Regions from separate parts of the Homo sapiens genome. Here regions 1 and 3 are each linked to region 2. Evidence: promoter capture Hi-C in 16 types of primary human blood cells and fetal thymus (Javierre and others, 2016). All regions are on one chromosome and are shown on one strand. The core of a region is centred on a gene start or on the middle of the fragment in contact, and the rest is flanking DNA. Distances in the headings are between cores, read along the strand shown. Region 1 holds the start of FABP7 (fatty acid binding protein 7). Region 2 overlaps TRDN (triadin). Region 3 holds the start of SERINC1 (serine incorporator 1).

The links. Contacts are between HindIII fragments. The CHiCAGO score rates a contact against its expected background, and 5 or more counts as called.
Region 1: the fragment with the promoter of FABP7 here is called in contact with a fragment that was not itself captured in region 2 in 1 of 17 cell types (monocytes); the score reaches 5.3 in monocytes.
Region 3: the fragment with the promoter of SERINC1 here is called in contact with a fragment that was not itself captured in region 2 in 1 of 17 cell types (total CD4 T cells); the score reaches 5.7 in total CD4 T cells.

Annotation. Positions count from the first base shown.
Region 1 is chr6:122,777,363-122,781,594 of GRCh38, forward strand. FABP7 (fatty acid binding protein 7) reads left to right here and starts at 2,354. Exons shown (of 4, transcript NM_001446.5): 1 at 2,354-2,505; 2 at 2,929-3,101; 3 at 3,731-3,832. The coding sequence starts at 2,433. The HindIII fragment of the contact is 5,682 bases long and covers 1-2,733 here.
Region 2 is chr6:123,316,938-123,321,385 of GRCh38, forward strand. The region is part of intron 23 of TRDN (triadin); the gene reads right to left. All of the region lies in intron 1 of LOC124901393 (a long non-coding RNA gene), which reads left to right. Among named protein-coding and RNA genes, the nearest start is that of TRDN-AS1, 120 kb to the right of the region's middle. The HindIII fragment of the contact is 1,164 bases long and covers 2,571-3,734 here.
Region 3 is chr6:122,470,181-122,474,114 of GRCh38, forward strand. It overlaps SERINC1 (serine incorporator 1), which reads right to left and starts at 1,627. Exons shown (of 10, transcript NM_020755.4): 1 at 1,519-1,627. The coding sequence starts at 1,557. It also overlaps a transcript of PKIB not described here. RefSeq lists enhancers at 1,277-1,676, 1,727-1,786. The HindIII fragment of the contact is 8,379 bases long and covers 1-3,934 here.

The DNA of each region.
Region 1 (4,232 bases), core at 1,104-3,603, 540 kb before region 2:
ACTGAGCAGACCCCCTTTTGGCCAAGGGATGCCCGCCTCAAAAAAACCCTTAAAACCTGAATTCCTGGCCATAAAAGGAAGGGAAGTCGGACATACTTCTGACTTTTTGGAGTTTAGACACAACTGACAGGCATTCATGTTAAAATAGAGATTATAAAACTGACAAAACAGACTCTTTGTGTCAATAAGACACCAAACTATAAACAAGATCTAAGGTAATGCAAGGCAAGAATTAGGCCATTCATCTTGCCACAGAGCATCCTTTTGTTAATATAAAACATTTATGTCCAGCCTGGGCAACATGGCAAGACCTTGACTCTACTAAAAGTACAAAAAAATAGCCAGGCATAATGGTACATGTCTGTTGTCCCAACTACTCAGAGGGCTGATGTGGGAGGATCACTTGAGTCGTGGAGGTTGCAGTGGGCTGAGATCGCGCCACTGCACTCCAGCCTGGGTGAGAGAGCAAGACCCTTTCTCCAAAAATAAATAAATAAATAAATAAATAAATATAATTTTTTTATGTGCACTCCAAGTTTTAGACAGAGCCTTATTCCTTTAACCAAGTGCAAATTAAAGAATCTCTGAATTCATCTATAAGCTGTAAGCCCTCAGCTTCAAGATATCCCAGCTTTTTGAGCTGAACCAATGTATGCCTTCCATGTATTGATTTACGTTTTTGACTGTACTTCTTGGCTCCCTAAAATGTATAAAACCAAACTGTAATCTGACCACCTTGGGACCACTTTCCCAAGGCTTCTTGGGTTTGTGTTTTCCCTGGGCCTCAGTTGCTCATATTGGTTCAGAGTAAACTTCTGTAAAACATTTTACAGAGTTTGGTTTTTCTGTTAGCAAAGCAAAAGAGATAGGCCTTGACATTAAGTTTGATTTTAGTGGTAAAGTATTAGAAATGATTCAGAGGTTTCTGGCTTGTACAGTTGGGTGCATGGTGGTATCAGTCACAAATAAAGTGAAAATTGGAAGAAAAGCAGTTGTGAAGGAAGACTACAGTTTTTGTTAAACAAGCGCACTTGAGACACCGAAGAAGAATCATGTAGCCGCCACCTAGCGTAGGAGGCCTTCTGAGCCTTCTCTGTTGGATCTGGTGTGGATTGGGTAGAAATGTGCTGGGCTGCAGTTTAATTGGGAGGGGAGAGAGAAGGGCAGGGAATATCAAGTCGGATTCTCCTGCTCTGTCCCCAGGAGAGGCAGGTAAGCTGCTTTCATTGCTGGTCAGCACTAGTAAGTCAGGAAGGAATCTCTTTGGGTGAAGGGGAATTTCAGAGACTTCCTTTAAATACTCTACTTAGAACCCTCAAGGTATTTGCCATTCTTGGGGAACCCTGAGCCAGGGCAAACTGAAACCAAAGCCCTTCTGATTCCTACCGCTCCTCCAGTTCCTGCCCTTCCCCATCACTAACTCCCAACAAATGTACACAGATTGTATTTGTGTAGATGTGGCCTCAGGAAATCAAAAGGTCCTAGAATGCAGGTAATTTAAAGTCTTACTAAATAATCTTCTGTCCAGTTTTTCCACATGGGTTCTATAATCTATTCAAGGAGATCGGGGGGAAAAGCATTCTTTTATTTATTTTTGTACCTCATTAGTAAGTCCTAACCATACTCTTCCTTAGGTCCCTTTTCCAACTCAGTCTCGTTCTCACATTTTTAGAAAGGACAACGGGATCTTTAAATTCTCTCGGTTTGTGTTGGGAAAGGACCCAAATTAGTGTGCTTCCTCATTGACAGTCAGAGTAGCCTTCAAGCAGTATATCCAGGGAAGGCATTTACACCTCCTCCCCGCCCTCTTTTTCAGTTTGGCCTACTCTAGCCTGCATTTCGCTCTCCCTGTAACTATGAGAGAAAATAACACACACTATTCACTCTCCTTTGTCTGCAAAGTCTGGCATTTCAGTGGTTTTCTTTAAGGGGGGTCCTCATTTGTGACCAGCTTTGTCATTAACGGAAATCAATCTGAATGCCCCATTGTGCATCTTTTTTCTTTCCTTGCAGTCTGAGATTGCCTTTGCCAAGTTTTTTCTCACCGAACCTGAAAGCCCTTCTCTCATTTTCCCGTTCCCTGCCTCCAGCCCCATTGAATCCCTGCCGAGCTTTCTCAGGCATAAGGGCTGTAGTGTGAGGATTGGGAGGAACTCGACCTACTCCGCTAACCCAGTGGCCTGAGCCAATCACAAAGAGGATTGGAGCCTCACTCGAGCGCTCCTTCCCTTCTCCTCTCTCTGTGACAGCCTCTTGGAAAGAGGGACACTGGAGGGGTGTGTTTGCAATTTAAATCACTGGATTTTTGCCCACCCTCTTTCCAAATAAGAAGGCAGGAGCTGCTTGCTGAGGTGTAAAGGGTCTTCTGAGCTGCAGTGGCAATTAGACCAGAAGATCCCCGCTCCTGTCTCTAAAGAGGGGAAAGGGCAAGGATGGTGGAGGCTTTCTGTGCTACCTGGAAGCTGACCAACAGTCAGAACTTTGATGAGTACATGAAGGCTCTAGGTAGGTAACAATAAGACCGGCTGTTCTCTTCTCAACGTGCAGCTTTAGATATTTGCAGATTCCATTTTTCACTCATCAGGTCAGCAAGAGGCAAAGACAGATCACATTGCCCTGATCAGATGCTAGGCTATGCATTTTCCACTGAATGGATTTTTAATGTGGCACTTGCTTGCCTTCTTACCCAGGGCCAATAAAAACAGAACATTTGCTATTCCGTGGAGAATATGAAGCTTCTCTGACTTTTTTGGTTTTCTTCTGCATCCACTTATTATCACAGTAGTGTTTTACATGATTAATGGGCTAATCATGTTCTAATGAAACTTACACTTTAGAACGTGGATTCCAGAATCAGAAAGCAGATTCTTGCTTTGTGAGTTATTTTGGAAGTCGCTGCAGACTGTACTGTTCCCTTTGCTATTTTAGGCGTGGGCTTTGCCACTAGGCAGGTGGGAAATGTGACCAAACCAACGGTAATTATCAGTCAAGAAGGAGACAAAGTGGTCATCAGGACTCTCAGCACATTCAAGAACACGGAGATTAGTTTCCAGCTGGGAGAAGAGTTTGATGAAACCACTGCAGATGATAGAAACTGTAAGGTGAGAAACTGCTTCTTCTTCAGAGTGGGGATGGGGAGAGGGGAATAAAGATAAAGATTTCCAATGCATGTTTTTTTTAAGATGTTGGAAAGTGTAGAATATTTTCAGTATTTCAATCCAAGGAGAAATACACCAAAGTTAGTTTAATGTGCATATGTTATATTTTGAACAATGGGTACTTGCTATAGCATAAATCTCAGTTGTATTTGTCTCTTACCATATACTGTTCACATTTTATATCAAACTTGTATTTCAGAAAATATTTAATAAGGTTTGTTTGAAAGAGAGATTGCATTTTGTTTAATTCCCCAGGTTGCCTCAGATTGACTAAATAGACAGTTTGCCTCATTCTAAGGCTTTCTTTAGAGGGACGACTAGCTGCAAAGCACTGGTTTAGGATTTTTGTTTTTAATATATTAAATTTTTGTATTTAGATGTATACTTTTTAATCAAATTATGAATTCAAATTTACATAATAGAAAATCTAGAAGTAATAGAAATAACAATAGGATAATTAACTGATCATGATTTATTCAATTATACAACTCTTTCAAAAATCACATCGTCTTCCGTATCAGAAATCTGAATTGTATTTATTGCTATGTTCTGCATTTTGTTGTTGGTCTCAGTCTGTTGTTAGCCTGGATGGAGACAAACTTGTTCACATACAGAAATGGGATGGCAAAGAAACAAATTTTGTAAGAGAAATTAAGGATGGCAAAATGGTTATGGTAAGTAATGACAATTCTCCATTCTTCCTTGTTTTTTTCTCCTCTCCGCACACCTCTCACCTCCTTCCTTCTTCTTCCCTCCTCCTTCCATTCTTCCTCCTTCCTTCCTTCTTTAATAATACATCACTGGCAAGGTTCTTTAACTATATGTAAAACAGGGGAAACAAAAAGATCCCAGTTAATTTTCTTCTTCAGCTCAACTTCTTTGATTGTAGAAAAAGAGAAAAATTCATGTGTAGTTAAAAAAATAAAAGTTGCCATTGATTTGCCTAAAACTGTGTCAAAAGATTTTTTGTAGGATAACTATGGATGTCTCTCAAATAAAATTTAATATAAAGCCCATAATCACTGAAATATATAAAGATAATTGCTATTATAAGAGAATCTCAGACAGATGACT
Region 2 (4,448 bases), core at 1,903-4,402:
TATAATTATTGTTTTCCTAGTATTTCCGTTAGTATCAATTTTATAAAATAAATCAATTTTACCTAAATTTAATATAATAATATAGACAATTGTGACATAAAGTATCTTGTTCTCTTATTGTCCTAGGACAATGTCTTTTGTCCAGAAATTCTGCATTCTAAAAACACCAGTATAGAATAAATTCATACCTTTTTTAAACTATTCAAGTAATACTCATAGCACAACCCTAATCAATAAGATAGTTGACTATATTTTCATGTTTCCAGTCTATCCTTTTATCTAACCAACTTTCCTAGGCTTTATAATTATCTGTTCTTGGTATAGAGTCTTCTTTTGATTAATGGAAGAGTCCAGGTACATTACAGTTTTCCTCCCTCCAAACAGCAGAAAAAACTGACTTCATAGTTGGAATACCTACTGAGCATAAACTATGTATAAGGGATAATGCTACCAGCTTTATTTGGGTTTTAGTCTAGCAGTGTCTCATTTTCTGTAGTTATAATTTTAAAAACTAATTTGTTTAACTGCAGAATTTTATATAATAAAGAATGTCATAGACTTTTACACACTACTTCCGATAATACTTGAGTGCACCTTCTGTAAAAAGTAGTATCAGTGCTATTAATGCACTCTGACACTCTTTGGCACATATTTCTCCCCCTTTTTGACACATTCACTTAGCTTGGTAGATACACCCTATTTTAATGTTTTCTATGTGCCACAGTATTATAGAAAATTTTGTTATTGTCTGTAATCACTCTTTAGATTTTAAGCTCCATTAGTGCAAGAACTGTGTTTTGTTTATTACTCAAATATCAGCACTGGGTGAAATATCTGATATGTGGTATATGATCAACAAATATTGTTGAAGGAATGAATGAGTGAAATAAATGGAATATATAGAATGACTAAAGGCTCCCTGTTGGGTATCTGAAGTCCTAGAAGAAGTTGATTCATCTTATGACTCTGCAACTAGAGATAAAAATTCAATGTCACATAGCTGTTGCATTTATATTTTATTTTAGAAACTTAAAAAAATAAGTGATGTCTTTATGTGTCCAATGATAGCAAATATGGCCTGCAACAATTCAATGATACCTTCAATTATTGGGTTTCCTGGTGCTATGTTTTGTCTCAGTCAGTTTAGGCTAAAGTTAATTCCTATCTAATTACTTAGTCTACAATACACAATTCTCTCTTTTGATGGTGAGTTCTGATGAGATTTTGGCTTCACTGGAAAGGAAACAACTTTTTCTTTTCTCTAATAGTTCTTTCTTTATTGAATCTATGCTAGGTCAACAGTACAGTTTAAACTTTCAAGCAAATTAGCACAATTCTAGTGATGAGAATTATTTTTTCTGGAGTACTTATGGCTCAAGTGCTGGTCAATTATTGACTTGCATTATTCCATTATTTTATGAAGTACATGCTATTTTAATCCCCATTTGGTAGATGAAGTGACTGAAACTTACGGAAGTTAGTTTGCGGAACCTCATTCAGCTGCTAAGTGGCAGAACCAAGATTCCATTTTCCCAACCTATTTCCCTTCACCCGGGTCATATCCCAAGGTCTGGATAGAATGATCTTGGTCTCCTTCTTAGTTCTGTTTCCGAAGTATGGCTAATTTGAATATTTGGATTTCTTAGAAATGAATTCCCACAAATTTAAATCTTTTCTTCCTAGGACACAGTTCATTAGCATTTTGCTCATCAATAATAGGTATCTATTTGAAACAGCCTTGCTTCCCACTCTGCACACGGCTTTCACTCCTGTCAATCATATTGTAATCTTGAAATGAAATCTTCTCAGCCTTAATGTTTGTCAAACGATCTTTTGGAAAAAATAAAAATTGTGGAGAATATTTATACCAACTATGGGTACAATACAACCAGAACCAACTTCGATCTTGTACACAGAATTTTGTAAGCACTCCTATGAAAAGGTATTATCTAACGTGTGGCTGTGGGCCCTCTTACTAGAATAGAACTACTGGCTTTAGTGTTATGTGAACAGTAATGCTAAAGATGACCTTAGGACAAGTTCTTTTGGTGTATGAAGAGTCGGTTTTTGGGTTTTATAATCTGACTTTAAAAGCAAGCTCATTTCCTAAGTTTTGTGACCTTGGGCATTACTTAAAACCTCAAGTCTTCATTCTGTCATTGCTAAAATGGAGAAAATAATGTAAAATTGATGTGAGAATTAGAAGTGATGTATATAAAGAGCTTAGCTATTTTTAAATTATGCTCATAAACTTAAATTGCATGATCTTTCAAAGTAATTTTCTCTTTTTTTTTTAAACAGAATTGGGATTTTACCCTTGAATACTCAAGGCAGGAATTGATATGTGAGAAAGTGGCAACGGATTTTCTAAGTTGAGCAGCTCTTTTATTAGGCTACTTGATTTTTAAGAACTCAGTGCACTCATTTTGTAGATGATATTTCTACTGACAGTAAAGTATTTTTTGAGCCATATGAGATTACAGTTTCTAACTAGGATTTATTTCAAGCCATATAAAAACAACTATATATATATTTACATATGTGTGTATATATATAAACTTTATATATGAAGCTTAATGAAAAGTTATAATGAGATGCTTCAGGAAACCAAGGACAGTTGTTAGTTAATACTGGCCATTGGGACTGGGAGGCCAGAGAGACAGCAGGCGAGCATTTATTTTTCATTCTGTCTTCACTGTTTAATTGTTTTCTACCACAATTATTCTTGTATAATAATACAATATCTAATTTCTGTAAACATTTGCCACTGAAGCCCTTCGTTTTGGGCTACACGTACAAGCATTGGGGAAATATGGAACCAAAAAGTCCCCATGCTAAGTTGTTGAGGCAGGCAGCCTGCCATTTCCTATGCAGCACTGACTTTTCCAGGCTGTTGATTTCATTTGTGAAATGTAAATTGCTGATGGGCCTGGGGAAGGGAGCTTCATTAGTGATTTTTCAATGTCATCAATAGTGTTTTCAAGTAGAATAAGCAGACCAAAACTTCAGCATGCAAGTGCTTAAGTCAGAAGGGCAGCAGTGGAGACAAACTCTGTTTAGGAGTCTCTGCTTTGTCTTCATAAAAAGAAAAGAAATAAATTTATTCAATATATAAATCCCAATAATCTGCATTATTTTCAGAATGCCTCTATTTTAAGTACTTTGCAAGGCAAAAGCTAAATATCATAGATTTTTTTCTCAATTTATTTTGTTATTATCACGGTTGTTTCTTTAGCACATAGATATCTCACATGTGGAATAAAATAAAATAATAATCATTATTATTATTTTGCACCAATGACACTTTGTATTTGCCACATGGTAGTCTCTAAGGTAAGTATATTATATATGTTATCTATATTTTATTGATATAATATTAAATATTCATTTGTTTATTAGCTCTCTAACCCTAGTAGCATATAAACTTCATGAGTCCTGGGATGATTTTTTTATTTTCCCTAATACATGATAGTGCTTAGACTGTTCTTTGCACAGAAGAGAGATCAACAAATATTTGTTGAAAAAATGGACAAATTACATAATCCTTACATACCACTCCTATGTGGTAAATGTTATTATTAGACTCAATTTACAGATAGCAATACTGAGACTTAATAATATGTTTAAATATATACTCCCTAGTAAGTGGCAAAACTGGGATTTGAATTCCGTTTCCAAAGTTTTAAGCACTTCAACACACTTCTATAACTAAAGTTGCTACTGATAGAATTAAAAGCTTTGAAGCATTTAATACATAAAAACTGTATAGCACACCACATTCTACTTCTTATAAGTGGTCTGTCTATATTATCTATGTTGTATTATCTACACAAACTACTAATAGTCATTAGGATTATAATTAACATATACAGTATAATCACAGAGGTTTCTATTTTTTTTCAAGCCAGTCTTTAAATCATGAATCGTATTATATAGTTTCCTACGTTGAGCTGGTAAAACTAAGCAGTCTGAGCATTAATAGAAAATGAATAACTCTCTCACACACTCCTGGAGTAGTATTCAATATTTAATGACATGGGAAGTTGTTATATTTAAAAGCGGGTCACAAAACCTACTCCTGTAAAATATATAAAGGAACATTAGCAGTGTTATCTCTGGTCAACCATAGGTGAATTTCAGTATGAGGGGGTCTGGAAAACGTGGTGGCTGAGGACATAGGTCTAAAATCAGACTGCCAGACACCAGTTCTGGATCCACATCAGGCAATTGTGTGACCTGGGCAAGTAACTCTCAGTGCTTCCATTTTCACGTTAATGCAAACAGGATTGCTGTGAAAATTAAACACTACACGTGAAGTACTTCGAATGGTGCCAGGTACAAAGCAAACGGTGGAGGTCAATCATTTCACTGATATTTTAAACTACTTTTCTCGCACTTTTCTAACCCAATTTTAAATACAATACGTATTTTAAAATTAAAAAAAACAT
Region 3 (3,934 bases), core at 377-2,876, 850 kb before region 2:
CCCGGCCAATACACTTAGACCCCCATCTCTAAAAAACTGCCTCACTGCTTCTACCTTTTTAATGTACTTCGCTATTAACACAGAAACTAAAAGGCAGGGTCAATTTTATCACGGACATTCTTCTAATCAATAAAGGTGGCGATCTATTTTGTAAAAGGGAAAACATGTATCTCATCTTTTAAATCTCTATTATATACAAAAAACTACAGCACGCCCACTTCATAACTGGACAAGATACGACATTACAAATTGAATTGCATAACATCTTCCAATAAAAAACCGATGAAAACAATCTTATATGATAATCAATTATCAGTTTTCAAAACTGTTTATCACACTAAATATGCCTCTTTTGTATAAAAGTCAATAATTAAACTCTCTAATATCTTGAGATAAAATATTCCAGGCTTCCGTGCAAGAAGAAATACCATATAATCAAAAGAACAGACTGGCTGGAGTAACAATCCCCACATTATTATTTGATTAAAATTCAACATTTTTAGTTCAAGACATATCAAAACCTTTAAGAGTATATATAACGGAATCATTTGGGAAGTCAGAAAAGCAATTGTTAGAAACAGAATTAACAAATTCCAGACTAAAGAAAAGTGATTTGAGTCCAAATACCTCGCCTAAAATTACAAATATCTTTATTAACTGCACTGCCAATGTTTTGCCTACTATTTTGGAGGGGGCAGAGATTATCTTAAATAAACTGAAATTTGTGCCACACGGACCAAAGTCTTGCCACTATACTGAAAATAGTTTTACTCTAACAACTCTTTAATGAAAATGCAATGTACAGCTAATTAAGCATGAAATTTCAGATGACACACGCATGTTTTGTGCCTAAAGACAAAATTGTCATTAGGCACAAGGCATGCGTGTGTCATCTGAAATTTCAATTTTAAGTTGAAATCTGAAATTGACACTTCAAACAGTTACGGCAGAGCTATGACTATTTGTTTCAAAAACAATATTACTACATTAGCATTACTGCCAGGCGGTTCCAAATGACGACAGGCACTTTTTAATCATAATCTGCGCCACTGAACAAAGAGGGCGACATGAATCCAGGAACGACAGTGCGGCAGTCTGAGGTCGCCAGGAAAGAGATGACAACAGAGTGGGTACCCCACCGAAGGAAAGGGGCAAAGACCTTTGTAGAGATGGCCTGCGCAGATACAAACAAAACCACGAAAAGGGACCTCAAAGAATGGGAGACAGCGTTCACGAAGCAGGGGTGGGGGAGGGGCCCTATTCTAGTTCTCTTCCTCAATTTGAGTCATCTTCCCATCGCCACTAAACCTTACGGCCAGTGATCAGTTCTTCGCAAGACCCAAAGCTCTGAAGCTGAGTCTGAGTGACGAGAGGAGACGGGAAGAAAACGGGGACAGAGAGGGCACTCCCTGTTGGGTGGGGCACCACATTCCCGCCGGGCTCACCCAGCCCCGGCTCGGATCGCCTTCTCTTTGGTCTCTCACACTAGCACCCCAGAGGCCGCAAAAAGCACCTTACCCAGCTCGCCATGGAGCACAGCCCCAGGACGCTCCCCATCTCCACAACGTCACAAGAGCAGCGGATACAGACAAGATGGAGACAGCTTCTTTCTCGCCTTTCCGAGATTATTTACTATCTGCGAGACACTTCCGGACGCACAGCGCAACCCGCCCCTCAGCCTCGCGTCACTTCCTTCCAGGCCTGGGTAGGATAAAACACGGAGCGCGCAGCGCTGAGACTGCGCATGCGCGTCACTAGACGACACGGCTGTCTTCTTTCCTGGAGAATTTCTCAAGGACTGCTGGCTGGAAACTTAACGGCTAATGTGGATCTGACCGTAGTTTGCCAAATTAAGAAAACGGTGTGAGCAAAACCCACCTTTACCTACCATGCACTTGCATTTGGGCATTAGTAGAGAACAGAGCTGAGGTGGTGGTTGACGTTTTGCCCTCCTTCATCTGAGGAACCTCTCTGCTTTTTAGGGGATTGCTTCCTCTTTCTCAGTCTTTGTCCGTCCTAACTCCACTTATTTCCCATTTTTCCCACGTTTGCATCCTGTTTTGCTCTTGCGTTTGCAACGTATTCCTGCAGCCCGCTGCCCGGAACAAGTTTTATTGGGATATTTATATTCATCTGTGTGCTTCAGTTTCTCTGTATCATTTCTGTTTGCTATTGACTTATATTTTAATTTCTTATGCTATTAAGATGTTACAAGAAATTTGCACGTTAAAATTATTTTTAATTAGTTAGATAAGACATTATCAAACTCAAACATTGATTTCGAATGTCATGAGCTGTTGAGGCATGTGGAACCCTTGCATATTAGGTGATGATGCACATCTGCAGGGAATGCATTCCTATAAAAGTTCCAGTTATTTTTTTAGAGTTATTTGTTCTTGAAAATATTCTGGGAAACAGCTCAAACTTGAAATAGTCATTCCCATAACTAATAATAAGAAAGTGTTGTAAAATCTACAAAAATTGCATGGGTCGAGGTGGGGTAAACACCTAAGAATCTGGAAGAATGTCAGAATCCCTACTCCTAGTTATTGTAACCACTAAGGGACAATCTTGCTTTATTCTTCTTTGCCTTATCTGTGGTTTTGTAGACCACTCTTAAAGCAAAGTATTATAATAGAGCATCCATAAGGTTTAAAGAATTGTGGAAATGCTTGTAATCCCAGAACTTTGGGAGGCTGAGGCAGGCGGGTCACAAGGCCAGGAGTTCAAGACCAGCCTGGCCAGCATGGTGAAACCCCATCTCTACTAAAAATACAAAAAATTAGCCGGGCATGGTGGCACGCGCATGTAATCCCAGCTACTCGGGAGGCGAGGCAGGAGAACTGCTTGAACCCGGGAGGCAGAGGTTGCAGTGAGCCGAGATTGGGCCACTGCACTCCAGCCTGGGCTGCAGAGCGAGACTCCGTCTCAAAAAAAAAGAATAGTGGAAATGGAAATTACAAACCTAACAATATTTTTAATTATGCTAAACTTAATACGTTATTTATGGGAGAAGAGAATCCTAGTATCTCAAGTCCTTAAACTTTTCAAAGTACCAGAGAAGGAGACAAAAAACACTTATATGTGAGTAACTTTAAGGTCGTAAAGAATATGTTTATTAGCCAAATGGAGAATGGGTCTCTTAAAATTTAAATTTGCACAGATTCTTGTCTCTTGCTCCATTTAAGAGGGTTTCTGAGATATTCATAAGTTCTTGCACTATTCAATAGAGTTTTTTCACCTGAGATATTCAGAGTTAAATACAAAAGTCATATTAATCTTTCTGGAATGTAACACTTGGCCTTGAAATACATTAAAAAAAATTTACTTTTATTTAACCTGTAGGCTATGTGGAGTGGAATTTGCTCACTTAAGTTATTATATATACAACATTAATTGGACACGACAGTATATATAGACTATTTTATTCGTTAGAAGAGTCTTCGACACCAGTCTCATTTTTCTCTTTGCCAACTATGAAAGAAAATTGAAATGATGACTTTTTCAAATTTCAACCCAAACACAGCTCAAAGCATAGTTTTCTCAATATATACCAGCTATTAGTAGGAGCACCCATTTCTCCAGGTGACTTCCTGTAGCACACGTATAACTTACAATGCCAAAATTCAAATTAGTCTAAGTAAGTACGTTAGTAAAAAACATTCTATCTAGCTGAGCATGGTGGCTCACACCCATTATCTTAGCACTTTAGGTGGCTGAGGCGGGCAGATCACCTGAGGTCAGGAGTTCCAGACCAGCCTGGCCAACATGGCGAAAACCTGTCTCTACTAAAAATACAAAAATTAGCAGGGCATGGTGGCACACCTCTGTAATCCCAGCTACTCAGGAGGCTGAGGCTGGAGAATTGCTTGAACCCAGGAGGCAGAGGTTGCAGTGAGCTGGGATCGTGCCACTGCACTCCGGCCTAGGTGAT